Linked DNA regions of Homo sapiens: region 2 is linked to region 1. Evidence: promoter capture Hi-C in 16 types of primary human blood cells and fetal thymus (Javierre and others, 2016). All regions are on one chromosome and are shown on one strand. The core of a region is centred on a gene start or on the middle of the fragment in contact, and the rest is flanking DNA. Distances in the headings are between cores, read along the strand shown.

Region 1 (2,877 bases), core at 201-2,700:
CTTGTGTTTTAAAGCAAATGGAACCTCTGAACTCCTAACACAAGGAGAAGGCAAAGCATTCAGTTCGGGTCTCTCTGGATCTACTGTGGAAGTGGTGGACTCCTCCTTCTGAAGATCTTTAAAAGCAATTGTGCCTGTGTTTATCTGACAAAAAGGACTGATGTGATGTGTTGCTAAATGAGAGACTTTTCAGATTCCCTTTCCACTCTGAGTTTAGAGTTCAAGGCGGGGGAATCTTAAAGGAGAACTTTCCACACTCTTGGAGTAAATAACAATTGAAATATAAAAAATCTGGCGGCGGGGGATGGAGGGGGCATTCTGTAATGGAACTTGTCAGCAAAAAGAAAATGGCAAATAAATGTGAGAAAGGGGCCGAAGGAGGGCAAGACAGTACATAGGGTGCCCCCCACCCACCCGGCTTTTAATGATTCAAGCAAAAAAATCTCTGCTTTGTGTGTAACTGGCACGGTGAACGTGGGAAAGGACACGAAGACCTTTCTCTCCCCACAGCTGGTCCAACTTTCCAATTTTCAGGTTGTTCACAGTGATTTCACTTTCAGTGGAAACGGGCGTCCCATCCCCAGGAAAGGAAGGCTTTCCTGCATGTGTAAAAAAGTAAACTGTTACTTTGTCCTTGCAAAAGAAAACTTCATTCTCTGAACTTCCCCGGGATCTGCAAAGCGCCCCGCGGAACTCCCGGTACTTAGTAGAAGCTCATTAAAGGTCTCTGTTCCCCTTTGCTCCCCGTTCGCCCGCTGGCCCTTTCTCAGAGCCAGACAGGCACAGCGCTGAGAAGGGAAGAAGTCCGAACAGGGAGCTGTGAAGACAAAATAAGGGAGTCCCGAGTCAGTACCCTTTAGTCCAAAGAAAGGGAGCGGGATGGGGGGAAAGGCAGCCCCGCCCTGGGACTGAAAAGTCTGGATTCTTAACAGCTGCAAGGTCGTGGATATTTTATGGGTTTTCTTCCTCACAAAATACACTCCTATAAGCAGAGATTCCCCCCCTCCACCCCGAAGAGAGGTGACGCAATGTCCTCAAACACTACCACCACCCCCAATAAAAAAGAAAAGGGAAGGGGGAGCGTCTTGCAACCCCTTCGCTTCACACAAGTCCAGCCACTCCCTTTCCTCCCAGCCGCTTCCCATCCCTTCCCCCATCCCCTAAAAAGTTTGATGACCGCAAAGGAAACCGAAAAAAAGTTGTCTTGCCCCAGTCCTGGCGGGCCATCAGCATCTCTTTTGTTCGCTGCGAACCCACAGTCCCCCGTGACGTCACCCGGAGCCCGGGCCAATCGGCGCGCGGTCGGCTGCGGCGGCCGGCGGGCGGGCGGGCGGGTGGGGTGGGGCGGGGCGGGGACAGCCCGGCGGGTCTCTCCTCCCCCGCGCCCCGGGCCTCCAGAGGGGCGGGAGGGGACCGTCCCATATAAGCCCCGGCTCCCGGCGCTCGGACGCCCGCGCCGGCTGTGCTGCACAGGGGGAGGAGAGGGAACCCCAGGCGCGAGCGGGAAGAGGGGACCTGCAGCCACAACTTCTCTGGTCCTCTGCATCCCTTCTGTCCCTCCACCCGTCCCCTTCCCCACCCTCTGGCCCCCACCTTCTTGGAGGCGACAACCCCCGGGAGGCATTAGAAGGGATTTTTCCCGCAGGTTGCGAAGGGAAGCAAACTTGGTGGCAACTTGCCTCCCGGTGCGGGCGTCTCTCCCCCACCGTCTCAACATGCTTAGGGGTCCGGGGCCCGGGCTGCTGCTGCTGGCCGTCCAGTGCCTGGGGACAGCGGTGCCCTCCACGGGAGCCTCGAAGAGCAAGAGGCAGGCTCAGCAAATGGTTCAGCCCCAGTCCCCGGTGGCTGTCAGTCAAAGCAAGCGTGAGTACTGACCGCGGGCTGAAACAGGCTGCCTCAGGGATGGGACCCTAAAGCCGACCAAAGTTGGGGCTGAAGTTTTGTGCGCGCGCGTGTGTGCGAGTGTGTGCGCGCTTTACTGAGAGAAACCAGCTGTGCACACAAAAGGACCGAGTTTTGAGCACGCTGGTTCTGAGGGCCTGGGATGATAAGACCGTGCATTGGAGGACGAGGACTCTGCGACTTTCCCGTGTTCTAATAAATTCTGCACGTTCAGATTGTCCTTCTAGGAATTAACCAAAACTTGCCTTTAAAGAGAAAAATGATGCATGTCTATAAATTTTCCGTCTGGGATTAGTGTGGTCCTTACTGCTACTTATTTCCTTCTGTTAAATAATTGGTCAAATATTTTCAACATGGGGGTGGAAAGGGGGTATTGAAATAGCTGTCTTGTTTCTAACTAACTTGGAAGAGATGTAATTGGTTCAGACCTCTTTAGGGCCGCTCAGGATACTTCACCAAGAACAGAGGTTGGAATTCTTTCCGTTTTTCAAAGACACACCCTCCTTTTGCTTTGAGAAAGCTGCTTAAAGTTGTCCTTTTTGACTATTACTCCAAAAGAATATTTAAGTTCCTTGCATGTTTTAAAAATGTGACTTCAATTGTCTGCCTTCCAAAATGTTTCCAACTTTTTTATGTAGACCCCTGGCCAGATGGAAATGACATCATTGTATATAACTTTTAGCAAAGTTAAAAGGAAAAAAATATGTACGTCAATATTCACATGAAGAAAATTCCATAATTTTGGGAAAAGGAGAAATGCAAATGTAACGTTTTCCTTCAATTATTTGCAGCCGGTTGTTATGACAATGGAAAACACTATCAGATAAATCAACAGTGGGAGCGGACCTACCTAGGCAATGCGTTGGTTTGTACTTGTTATGGAGGAAGCCGAGGTTTTAACTGCGAGAGTAAACCTGAAGGTAAGTGACAACAAGCCCCATAGTTAGTATCTTTTAATACATGAAGTGGTAATTG
Region 2 (2,902 bases), core at 120-2,619, 2.2 Mb after region 1:
ATTAAAATGTTTTATATACACTCACAAAATTGTATATATATCATGAACATAGAGCTTGATTAATTAACACACAAACTGAACACACTCGTGTAACCAGATCAAGAAAAAGAACATTGTCAGGTTTGTAGAGTATTTAAAACAAGCTCAGTGCTTTGTATTCACACATTTATTTAAAATAATGTTGTAAAAGAACAGCATCATCCAGCCACAAAACTTAGGAAGAAATGTAATTTCAACTTAGAGAGCAGGCTCATAGTTCATTTTAATCAATTAAAAATTAAAATGTTTTAATATGATAAAACACATAATGGGGTGCTTTTAACTAAACATGCTTTATAAATACCTTGATAATTTTATAAGAAGAAAATTGAGAGAAGTAAAACAGATTTTGATAAGATTTCTAATATTTATTCATCATTTTAAAATGTGAAATTTGAACATTAAATAAAAATTTCCTAGTAATTTTGATAACTTTAAATGTATATTTCTATTCATGTTGATGTTAAAAAAAAAAAAAAAAGGTTCCCCAAACTTTACTCTCAAATCTGAATGTGCATTCTACCAGCCTGGAGGCTATTGTCAAAATGCAGATCTTGGTTTGATCTTTCTAGGTTGGGGCCCAGGAGTCTGCGTTTCTGACAAGTTCCCATCTGGTGCTGATGTTGCTAGTTCTTGTGCCACACTTTCAGTAGCAAGGGTGTAGACTTCAACTTGGATATATTTAATAGATATCATCACGTAATATTTTGTCGTCTTTCTAGCTCTTTCCCAGTCTCTGGACGTGCCATTTATTTTTGACCTTTTCTTTTCTTCCCTGTTTTTGGTTTGTAAAAAAAAGCAAAAAAACTCCTATTACTGTGAATTGTCTGACTTCATATTCTCAGTGGCGGAAATTCCCTCAAAAACCTCTCCCTTCCCCTTGCCTTGGCACATTCTCCTCCCACTCCCCACACCTGCAGCTTCCTGTAAGCACTTTGATTTTCAGAGGTTAGTTTCTACCTCCGTCTAAGGTTCACCTTAATTCTTCAGTGTGGTTCTGTGTAGTAAAATGAAACTGTAATATCAATGTCCTGGACCCATGAAGGCCAGAAAGCTCAATGATTCAACAGTTTAAAAAATCAATTCTGCTTAAAAACAAACAAAACCCAGAGATATCTAAGGCAGCTGGGCTGTAATACTACAGTTCATCAGCTGGTACCACTATCTGATAAATTTTGTACAATCCTGAAATATTACTGGTTTTTATGTTTTGATTAATGCAAAAAATTAGTTCCTTTATATCAATTCTGCAAGACTGAAGTGCAATAATTTCAAGAATGAAAACAACAGTTGGCGATTTCCAGTATGAAAAAAGGGTCTATGATGCTAACTTTAAAGGTTATAAGACAAAAACAGAACATAAAATTATAAATTTAATTATGACTGGATAAAGCATAAATAACTTTAGATAATGGTTGATTTTCAAATAATATAAGAATTTATCCCATATAGACTTTTAATTCAAAGACTTCGTAAATAAAGGCAATAAAAGATCAATAAAGTTTAAACCAAGACACAAAATCTCCAGAATTCTTTAATATCAACTTTGTATAATGAAAGAAAGAAAAAGAAAAACCTATCAGTAAGATGAATATATGAAATTATGTCTTATTCAGCAATTTGCTGGTAATGGAATTTTCTGACCTGAAAATCACATAATTATTAACCATCTATAATGAATCCATCTATATTCAACTCATTGAGATGTATAAATAATAATCAGAAAAATCAGTCAATTCTGAGCCTTTGCAAGACAAATGTATATATATTTTACAAGATAGGTCTATGAATTACTTCAATTTATCTGTTCCATAATCTGATCTAAATTTTTAATTCTCTTTGCAGTTATGAAACAGTAGTGACAAATGAACATATCAAAAACAATTAAATATATCTATCTGCATTTCTGATTCATTCAGATCATGTTCTAATGAGCCCTGGTGTGAGAATTGAAAACTTGGAATCTAATTTTGTCCCCAGCACTAATTAGCTTGTGATCTTGAACAGGTCAACTAAATTCTCTGACTTCTAGTATCTGATATTGGAACAGATCTTTGGTGCTAGACAGGAAGATTGTAAGAATCCCAGGAGTAAGCTCAGAATCAAGTCTCATTCTGACCTTAAACCCAGCTTCTAAAACTTAGCTTCTTGACACTTAAGACCAGATATTTTGTCCCCACTCCTGGTCGAGGATTCTGGTCTCTGCCTTTCTGCCCATACTTCTGCTTTGGTTCTCATCCAGGATTGTAGTTGCTCTAGGACTAAGATGCAGACTTATTCTTCTAACACTTGCTTAATACTTCAGATTTTCTTCTAAGCCCCAATGTCCATAGCTACCTTCTTCCCTTTGACTCTTACACTGCATAGATTTCTGGCTAATGTTTCTTGCCAAAACCCTCTTGATTCTGAGATTTGCCTATCTACCTGGTCTCCACTTGCTGCTGAATCTCTCCTCATCATACAGCCAGTGTTTTGTAGGGTCTCCACGTCCCGCCCTAGCCTTCGCGAACCATGCAGTTGTTGAAATAACATTGACTTCAAATATCAGGGTCTACGCATGGGATGATGGTCTGCGGGTATAAAACTGAAAATGTTGTTGCAACAAGGCAAACAGGTCAGATGGGGGGAAAAGTGATGAAGTGTTGCATCACTTCAATAGTATATTTTCTTGACCAAATATAGTTGTCATGAAAATTAGCAGATTCAGAGAAAAAATATAGCTTAGACAACTGCTTGCTAATATCAGTTCTAAAAGCATGGTAAAAGTTTATTTCCCATAGGTCATTCAATGACATGTGCTTCTAAGTTAAGTGCCAGTATCTGTAACCAATATCTGTTCTAGGAGCTCTCATTTAAACAAGTG

The links. The method cuts DNA at HindIII sites, captures the fragments that hold promoters and counts their contacts. A CHiCAGO score of 5 or more calls a contact.
Region 2: a contact is called between a fragment that was not itself captured here and the fragment with the promoter of FN1 in region 1, in 1 of 17 cell types (total CD4 T cells). The highest score is 5.9, in total CD4 T cells.

Annotation. Positions count from the first base shown.
Region 1 is chr2:215,434,641-215,437,517 of GRCh38, reverse strand. FN1 (fibronectin 1) reads left to right here and starts at 1,450. Exons shown (of 46, transcript NM_212482.4): 1 at 1,450-1,863; 2 at 2,694-2,822. The coding sequence starts at 1,716. It overlaps FN1-DT (FN1 divergent transcript), which reads right to left and starts at 1,827. Exons shown (of 2, transcript NR_187198.1): 1 at 1,209-1,827; 2 at 1-599. RefSeq lists silencers at 1,267-1,356, 1,367-1,426. The HindIII fragment of the contact is 4,490 bases long and covers 1-2,877 here.
Region 2 is chr2:213,241,602-213,244,503 of GRCh38, reverse strand. No RefSeq gene overlaps it. Among named protein-coding and RNA genes, the nearest start is that of SPAG16-DT, 41 kb to the left of the region's middle. The HindIII fragment of the contact is 4,627 bases long and covers 1-2,902 here.